Linked DNA regions of Homo sapiens: region 1 is linked to region 2. Evidence: promoter capture Hi-C in 16 types of primary human blood cells and fetal thymus (Javierre and others, 2016). All regions are on one chromosome and are shown on one strand. Each heading gives the region's core, a stretch centred on a gene start or on the middle of the fragment in contact. The rest is flanking DNA. Distances are from core to core; before and after follow the strand shown. Region 1 overlaps RENO1 (regulator of early neurogenesis 1). Region 2 holds the start of CBX2 (chromobox 2).

Region 1 (4,358 bases), core at 1,277-3,776, 1.6 Mb after region 2:
GGGAAGCCAGGTCAGCTACCTGGCTGAAGGCCATGGGCACTATGCTGGGCAGGAGCAGGGATCTGCCATGTGCCCTGCGGGATGATGATTTTCATTAATCTGCAAAACATTGTGTCTTAGATAAGGGTAGGCTTCTTAGTCAGACAAACCTAGCTCCAATCCTGCTGTGTGGCCTTGGGTAAATTACTGACCCTCTCTGTGCCTCATCTTTAATGTGATTTCCATGGCAGGGCAGTCATGGGGACGCCAAGTGCTAATGCTATAAACAGACCAAGTACAGGTGCTGGCCTGTGCCAACTTTCTCTTCCTTCTCCTCTCCCTTCCTACCCCATGTCCCTGTGGCCAAGGGACAAGGTGGTTGGCAGTCTCCATGAGGTGCCTGGGGCTGGCGCTCTTGGCCAGCATAAGCCCACCAGGCTCTGGGAAGGGTCAGCCCTGCTCAGAGTGGGCAGATGGGTAGGCATGGCCGAGGGCACGAGGTGGTCACAGGTAAGCTGCCGGCAGCAAAGGGCAGCCTCTCACCTGGCCTTTGGGCAGAGAAGCCCCGCCCAGCTGTGGCAGTGAGCTGGGAGCGCATCTGTGGCCCTGCCCTGCTCTTTCCCCTAATGTGAGCTTCACCCCCGCCCTCCTTGAGCATGCCCAGCTCTTCCAGACTCACGCAGTCACATTTCACAAGTAGAGGAATGCTGGGGGGCCGGGGCCGGGCCAGGCTGCACCCAGGGCCACCCACATGCCCCCACCCATGAGAAGCAGCAGGAAGTCCCCTCCCCCTCCTCCACCCCTGTCTGTCCACCTTCAGGGTTTGGCTCTGATCTCTGGCTCTCCAGGGGAAATTTCCTTGTGGAGTTAGTGGAGTCAACTTTGCTGACAACAGTGGGGCCTAGAATGGGCTAAGGACATTATCTCTGCACCTAGGAAACCCCCACCATTCACTAGTTATTCATCCATCCACCCACCCATCTATCTATCCACCCACCCACCCACCCATCTATCCACCCCCCAACCCACCCATCTATCCACTCCCCAACCCACCCATCTATCCACCCCCCACCCACCCATCCACCCATCCAACCATCCACCCATCCACCCATCCACCTATCCACCCATCCACACCCCATCCATCCTATCCATCCACCCATCTGTCCTTCCATTCAATAAACGCTTCATGAGAGAAGAGACCCACCCTCCAGAGCTGACCCTGTAGCCCAGCCCAGGCCTCCTGGCACGGTCATTGGACTGCCTGGGTTAGATCACATGGGGTCCTGGTGGACACGTCGACTCTACTCTCCAGGGCTGGGCCCTGGCATCTGCATTTTCACCGAGGTCCTCTGAGGACCACATACTGATGCTTTTTTCCACAGGCTCTGAAGGCCCAGCCAAGGAGCTGACAAAGCAATGGACGGTGGCGAGGTTCTGCCAGGGGCCCAGCCATGGCTCTGGGGGTGCAGAGACCTGAGCAGAGGCCTCTAAGCTCCACCCATTTCCCACCAGCCTGACACAAGGCCCAAGAAGGCCAGAGTTCTGGAATGTAGGGGATTTGGGGCTACACTTCCTTATAGGACAAGGGAGTCCTGGGGACAGGGTCCCCAACACTGTGCACCCTTTGGTGGGCTGGCACTTGTCTCCAAAAGGAGGGCTCCAAAGTCGGGGCGGGTTGCCTGGGTCCCAGCTGGGCCCTGCTCTGGACTCCTGGCTCTCCTTTCAGGCTCCTTCCCCAAGGGCGCATCCCCCGCCCGGCCTGAGCTTCAGTCAGGGCTCACACCCTTCCCTGTCTCACTCAAGTGGGCCTTTCCAGGGTCAGTGAGAGACCCTGGGGACCCCATCCAGCCCAGGCCACACGGCAAGAGGGGAACTGCTTGCCTAGGCCCGGGTGTGGGTGTGAGAATGGCTGGAATCCTTCCAAGGTGCCCTTGCCTTCACCCTGTGCCCCCCGTGCTCCTGCACCTGGGCACTGGGGCTGCAGAGCTGCTGAATTGCAAGGGGGACCCCTCACCCTTAGATCTTGTTCATGCTAATGGCTTTGCAGGGGTCCTCTGATGCACCCAGGCCCCCTCCTCCCAGCTGGCCTGATTAGCAATGAGCGCAACTCCGGGAAAATTATTAATTTCTATCCCTCAAGTTTACTTCTGGGAAAGTTTGCCAATTAACTTGGCAAGCTGAGGCTCCCAAAATAAAAGGCAAAGGGAGGGAGAGGCACTGGGACGGTCCTTGGTGGGAGGGGCAGCAGGTGCAGACTCCATCCTCAGGAGTGGGGGTGGGGTGGCCTCGGACAGAGCCGGGGCCACTGGCTGGGAGTGGCCTGAAGTGGAACGAGGAGGTACCCTGCAGCGGCCCCGCCCACCATACCAAGGGTGGCCCCACGCAGGGCTGCACCGCATCTGGTTGAAACTCGGGAGGTCTGGGCGGGGGATGCAGGGGCGCCTGGGGGCCCTGGCTCTGACAGTGTCCACATCTGCACGCGGAACACACAGGCTATTGATGGGTCTGAAATAAAAGGGGCTGAGGGCAGCGGGCAGAGCCTGGGACCACCGCGGCTGGGCATCTTCCCATCCAACAGTCCCCAGCTCTGGTCCTTCTCACTTTCTTCTGTTTGTTTGTTTGTTTTGTTTTTTTGTTTTTATTTTTGCGACAAGTTCTTGCTCTGTCTCCCAGGCTGGAGTGCAGTGGCATGATCACGGCTCACTGCAGCCTCAACTTCCTGGGCTCAAGCAATCCTCCTGCCTCAGCCTCCTGAGTAGCTGAGACCACAGGCATGTGCCACCAAGCCCAGCTAATTTTATTTTATTTTTTGTAGAGATGAGGGTCTCCCTATGTTGCCCAGGCTGGTCTCAAACTCTGGAACTCAAGTGATCCTCGATCCTTGGCCTCCCAAAGTGCTGGGATTACAGGCATGAGCCACCAGGCCCGGCCCCTTCTTTTGTGCAAAGCCAGGCCCCCCCCACCCCCGATGCTGGGCTCCACACTCCCCCAGAAGGCCTTCCCCCTCTCTTCCCCCTCTCTGACCATGCATCTGATGCGGTTTGCTTTGGCTCAGTCACTGGCGGTGAAATGTTGCTGTCACAATCTCGGCTCCTGCCTTGCTCTGAGGTCTGTGTGTGGGTTGGGGAGGGGGCAGCAGGATGGCGCCCCTTCCCAGCCAAGCAGCCTCTGCACAGTGGGTGTGCAGCCTCAGGGAGGCAGATGCCAGGTGCAGAAGGAAGCCAAGGAGACCCACCTGGAGAGGCTTCTGGGCCCTCAGGCCTTGGCACTGACTACGGGGCCCTGGCTGGGCAGATAGCGCCAGAAGGGACACTGGACCCTCCCAAGGCTAGAAGAAATAACCAATCCCCACTCAACGAGGCTGCTTCCTCTGTGGCCAGATCGAAGGCAGGGCTCCTGATGAGGGGGCCAGAGGCACTGGGCCAGCTGCTTTTGGACCCAAGGGACCTGCCCAGATGCCTGTGGGGGTGTGGGGAGTGAGGGGAGCCACCGTACCCAAGGTCGCAGCATCCCTGGGAAATGGTCCTGCCCAGCAGGCTTCCGGATGTCTGGTTCAGGAATGTCTCCCCAGGCCCACTCTGTAGTGGCCAGAGACAGAAGGGCAAGGCCATGGCTTTTTAAAAGGCAGCCAGAACATTCGTCTCCTGCCAGAGTAAGGCCATGGCTGTGCCCTCCATGTCCCCGGCACTTCCCGCCACCCCAGGCTTATCTCATCTCCGGTGCCTCCTAATGGAGGCGCTGTGGCCCAGCCCCTCCAGCAATGTCCCAACAGCCCCCATCAAGCCCCAGAAGTACTCAGAAACATAAATTAAAACAAATTGCATTTAAAAATTACAAATAGGGGCCATTTTATCGTTTTTTATTACATAACAACCATTAATAAAGTGTAGTCCCTGCACCTTCATTGCCTGGAGACTAAAGTTCAATTCCTGTCCTCCATGCAGGCTGGGGATGCCATTGTCACAGCCACGTACCTGGGGTAATACAAGTGTAAATACATTTATGGGCAGGAAGAGGGGCTTAGGAGGAGGGCCCTGCCGCCCACAGGGCAGGGCGGGTCCTGGAGCTCTCTGCTGGGAGGAGCCACTGCCTTCCTCCCAGGATGATGATGGGTTAGGGGATCCTGGGACCAACTGGACATGAAGAGGCCACTCCCACTGGGGTAGAATGAGGTGGGGGCTGAGATCCTCCTGCCTCCCCTTCCTGATCAAGGAGGGCCCATGCAGGAGAAGGAGATGCAGGCGCAGGATTGGCTGTATGGTGCACACACACACACACACACACACACACCCTGGACCCCCGTGACAGGGAAGCAGAACAGGAGGCCAAGACCAGCCACACACTGCGAGACCAGCGGCCAGGCTGCCCAGAGCCCTTCC
Region 2 (4,546 bases), core at 1,497-3,996:
TGAAAATACTTATGCTTTCTTAGTAGCATTTCAGACACGAATAAGTTAATACTTGTCCTTATCACTTGCGTAGAAAGGAAATCAGTACTATACAAAGTCTGTACTCCCTGAATGTCTTCCTCTGTGCCTGGATTTTTAATATCTTTTTTGTATGTGTTTTAAACATTCTTGTATATAATTAAGCATAACTGTGAGTGTAGGTAAACTATTCATATTCCAGGATTAATTTATGTAACCGTATTACTTTCATTTAAAATATGTTTAAAGCAGATCCCTCTCATTCCTGTGGACCTGCAAAGTGTCCAGTACAGTGACCACCAGCTACATGTGGCTACTCCCACTGAAATGAATTAAAGTGAAATACAATTTAAAATTCGAGCCTTCAGTGGCACTAGCCACACTGCCAGTGCTCAGCAGTCCCAGGTGCCTAACGGCCACCACACTGGACGCAGTGGAGGGAGGCTCTGTCCATCCACTTCCATCACCCACAGATGGAGCTGCTGCTACGGTCTTATACTACTGGATATCTAGTAGTGCCCACATGATAGTACATACTAACTATCTGTCGAATGAATAATACAATAATTAGTTTTAACTTGTCTTAATAATTCTTAAAATGTGACAGTCAAAACGGAAGACGTCCGCTTGTTTTACACAGTTGGATTAGCTGGGGGTTATTCTTCCCTTCTGCCTATTCCCAGCTTTGTTTTTAGGGAACGTGCCACAGATTTTGGATCACACGTTCACAGAATGTATCTGATTATTTCATTCTGGCCAAATCTGTCATATTTGTTTCTCCAAATGAATTATCTAAATATTATTTTACCCAAACTGTTTGCAGTTGGGTAGATGATGTACATGTTAAACCTTCCTGGACGCTGATTTATTTTTTTCAATGTGTTAGTATCAAATTCTAGCAAATTTATTTCTTAAGCAAAGAAATCATTCCCTTTTCAAAGCCTTCTTTTCTTTAAAAAGAAATCAAGCAAGTATCCCAGCATACCATGAGTCAAAGAGGAAACTGGAAACTTCCAGGGCAAAATCTTAGACCCAAGATGAATTCTGCAAGGAAACGTGATGTGAAACTGATCCAGCTATTTGTAGGATTACAATAAATACACCTTTGCCCTCAACTCCACAATTTACTGCCAAGCTGCACAAGACAGGGATACAAAAGGAGCCGGCGGAGACACTGTTAGCGGATCCCTTCACTCCAGAGGCCAGTTTTATCCCAACACAAGGATTCTTTACTGCCTCTGCCCCTGAGTAAACAAACACCTTCCCCCCAAGGACATTTCCCTTTCTCCTGCCCTCTTTGCAAACAACATCTGAATTTGCACGTACTCTCCAGGAAATCAAATGAATGTAACCTATCTAACCAAAGAAACTGAAGAACACGCCATAAATTGAAAGATCGGTTCCTACAGTTCAGTATTTTCTCCAGTAGGCCTTTCTGTAAAAACAAAAAAACACATTTCTCCTGCAGAACCCTTTATAAATATGGTTTTGATGATCACAATTACATTGAGACAGTCTCCTACAACAAGAAACGACTTTTGGATCTGCTCAACAGAAAGAGAATTTTGCAGCTGTGTTCAAGGAAGCAAGAAAAGCAGAGAGTGAATTTTCATGGAGTTAGACTGCGTTGAGACGAATGAAGCTAAGGCTCAGGTCTCTTTCATTACGTGTTTGACTTGTCCTGATTCAAAATCTAAATAACTTAAAGGGTGATTCTTCATGGAATTCGAATCTTAACACCGGAATAAAAGGGTAGCCTGCTGACGACGATCACAGGGAGGACAAGGGGTCACCCCCACTTTCATAACATGGCCTGACCCTTTTCTGCCGCGGACAATTGATCCGAAGGACGCCGGCTGCCCAGCCCTGGCGGGCCACTACTGACCTAGTCCGAAGTTAGGAACAGCCTTGCAAACCGCCCCCTCCCCCTCCATTTCATCAAAATCGGGGAACAAATTCAGAAAAGGTGCAGCTGGTTTTCTCCCTACACGTGCCCTAAAACTCGGGGGCTGGATCCACTTTTCATAGCTGTTTAATAAGAACTCCGGGCAGTTCGTATTACTTCTTTCTCAGAGTGCTTGGTGGTTTAAGTTAAAGCATTTTCCTCTCTCGCCTTTGGGGGAAAAAGCCTCGGCTGCTGGGGTTTGTGGGCCCCTCCCCCGGACTTCGTCTTCCTTTCCTTCCCCAGCCCCCGACCCGTTTTGCTCTCGTCCAAAACAGAGCGACTCCCCCGCTGCCGAGGAAAAGCCAGTTCAAGAAGCCGGGGGAAGGGTGGGGCCCCGCGTGCCCCGGAGCAGCGCCCCTCGAAGGCGGGGGCAGGAAGCAGCCGCCGCGCCCCGTCCCGCTTCCCTCCCTTCGGGCCAGAACAATGGCTTTTTGCCCGGAAAACGGAGTTGGGAGCAAGGGCGGGCGCGCCCCGGGAATCACGCGGGACTCGGTGGGCGCCCCAGGCCCGAAGTCCCTAGGCACCTCCTCCCCCAGCCAGGGGCCCGCCCGCGCCCCCACCCCCGCCCCCGCCCCCGCCCGGGGCCCCGCGCGGGACCCCCCGCCGGAGCGCGAGGCCCAGCCCGCCGCGGACAATGCGCGCCCCGCCCCGCCCCGCACCCGCCCCCCCTCGCTGATTGGCCCGCACGGGATTTGGGCAGCGCGCGGGGGCGGGCGGCGGGCCGGGGCGCGGGCGCGGAGCGGCGGTGCGCGTGCGCGGGGCGGGCCGGCGCCGGGCGGGGGCGGTGCTTTGTGTGCTGCCGGCGGGGCGCGCGGCGGTCCGGGCGGGTGACTGGCGGCGGGCGCCGCGGTCGGGCTGGCTGCCGGGCAGCATGGAGGAGCTGAGCAGCGTGGGCGAGCAGGTCTTCGCCGCCGAGTGCATCCTGAGCAAGCGGCTCCGCAAGGTGCGTGCGGCCCGCCGGGCCCCCCGCCCGCCGCCCGCTGTCCGTCTGGCTCACGGCCCCTCTTCTCTCCCCGCAGGGCAAGCTGGAGTACCTGGTCAAGTGGCGCGGCTGGTCCTCCAAGTGAGTCCCCCGCGACGCCGCGCCCCCCTCCCGCCCCCTCGCCCGGGGGTGGGGACGTGGAGCCCCTCGGCCGCGCCGTCCGGTGGCCTGGGGGCGCCCGCGGGCAGAGCGGGAAGTTCGCGGGGTCCCCGCGGGCTCCTCCGGCTCTGAGGGGGGCGGGGGCCGCCCGGCCCGAGGTTGCCCTTTGTTTACACGCCCGCGGGTGCAGAGCTGGGCGGCCCCCCGCGCCAGAACCTCCTCGGCTGCCGCGCCGCGCTCCCCCCAACCCCCGTCCCGGCCGGGAGGGAGGCGCGGGATGCAAGCCCCCCTCCTCTTGGCCAGATTCTCCCCGCTGTAACCTGAGCTTGCTATTGATGGATGTAGAGTTTCTTTTTTTTTTTCTTTCTTTTAATGGAAGGGAGGGTGTTTGGCATCCCCGGAAGGGGCTCTCTGCACAGCTGCTCCCGCGGCCCCGTTTCTGCGTCTTCCCGGACCCCGCTCTTTCTTCGCTACCCCTCGAGGTGCCCCGGCCCGCGCGCCACATTGTTCTGGATCTCGGGCTGGGCGCCTGTGCCCCTCCCTGCATGCTGGACCTGCCTTCCCTTCCTCCTCTGGCTCCGGGCCAGGGTTTGGGGGAATCCCTCTCTGCAACTTTGCGTTTTATGGGGGTTTGTTTTTCTCCCAGGCAGAGACTGTGGGAGTCCTCTTGTGGCCTTGTTTTAATTGGGGGGTTGGAGCGGCAGTTTCCCTTTGGGTCTGAGGTTAGAGTGCTGGCTTGGTGGGGGGTGGCCAGCCTCCAAAACCTGGGTTTGGACTTTGAGAAGTGCCATGGTGCTACGGTGCCACTGCCATCGGCCCAAGTCGAGGAGCGGTGAGGGCGAGCCCCCTCGGGCTGCCTTGCAAAGCGGTGATCATCAGCCTGGCGTCTAATGCTGCCCTGTCCTCTGCTTTGCAGACATAACAGCTGGGAGCCGGAGGAGAACATCCTGGACCCGAGGCTGCTCCTGGCCTTCCAGAAGAAGTGAGGACGCTGACAGCACTGGGGAGGGTGTGGGGGAGGGACGGTGGCTGGTTGGAGTCGTGCTGGGCGCTGCTCGCCTGCCGGGAGGCTGGAGCTGGGGCTGTGGTCTGAGGTCCCTTAGCAAGATTGTGTCCAGGGCCATCTCTGTGGCTGGCTGTAAAAGTCCCCAGCCAGCCCCTCTCCCACCTTCTCCTAGCCAGCCTGTATCCATCCCTGAGAAGAACCTAAGTAAGTGCTGCTTTGGTGTTTCCGACAGCCATACTTGCAAAAACCAACTTTTTCAGTTGCTTCAGATAAAGATGTTATAGCTTCTCTTGGCCTTTTCTGCTGAGTAATTTGCACATGGCGCTAACAGAAAACCAGGAGAGCAGGTTTGCCACAGTGACGCAGGTCTGCCCTTCCAGCCCTGCACGCGTGTGCCATCAGGCAAGAAGGCTCAGAGAGGGAGCTGGAACACACAGCACGCAGTTGTGCCTATTGTGATGTCTCTCTCAAGAAAGAAACATTTATTTTGCTCTGG

Evidence for each region. The method cuts DNA at HindIII sites, captures the fragments that hold promoters and counts their contacts. A CHiCAGO score of 5 or more calls a contact.
Region 1: a contact is called between a fragment that was not itself captured here and the fragment with the promoter of CBX2 in region 2, in 2 of 17 cell types (naive B cells and total B cells). The highest score is 6.4, in naive B cells.

Annotation. Positions count from the first base shown.
Region 1 is chr17:81,335,361-81,339,718 of GRCh38, forward strand. It overlaps RENO1 (regulator of early neurogenesis 1), which reads right to left. Exons shown (of 2, transcript NR_186479.1): 2 at 3,823-3,953. Among named protein-coding and RNA genes, the nearest start is that of TMEM105, 6.9 kb to the left of the region's middle. RefSeq lists an enhancer at 3,884-4,358. The HindIII fragment of the contact is 5,737 bases long and covers 1-4,358 here.
Region 2 is chr17:79,775,402-79,779,947 of GRCh38, forward strand. CBX2 (chromobox 2) reads left to right here and starts at 2,747. Exons shown (of 5, transcript NM_005189.3): 1 at 2,747-2,906; 2 at 2,983-3,026; 3 at 3,961-4,026. The coding sequence starts at 2,835. RefSeq lists silencers at 2,552-2,931, 2,942-3,011 and an enhancer at 3,407-4,000. The HindIII fragment of the contact is 13,003 bases long and covers 1-4,546 here.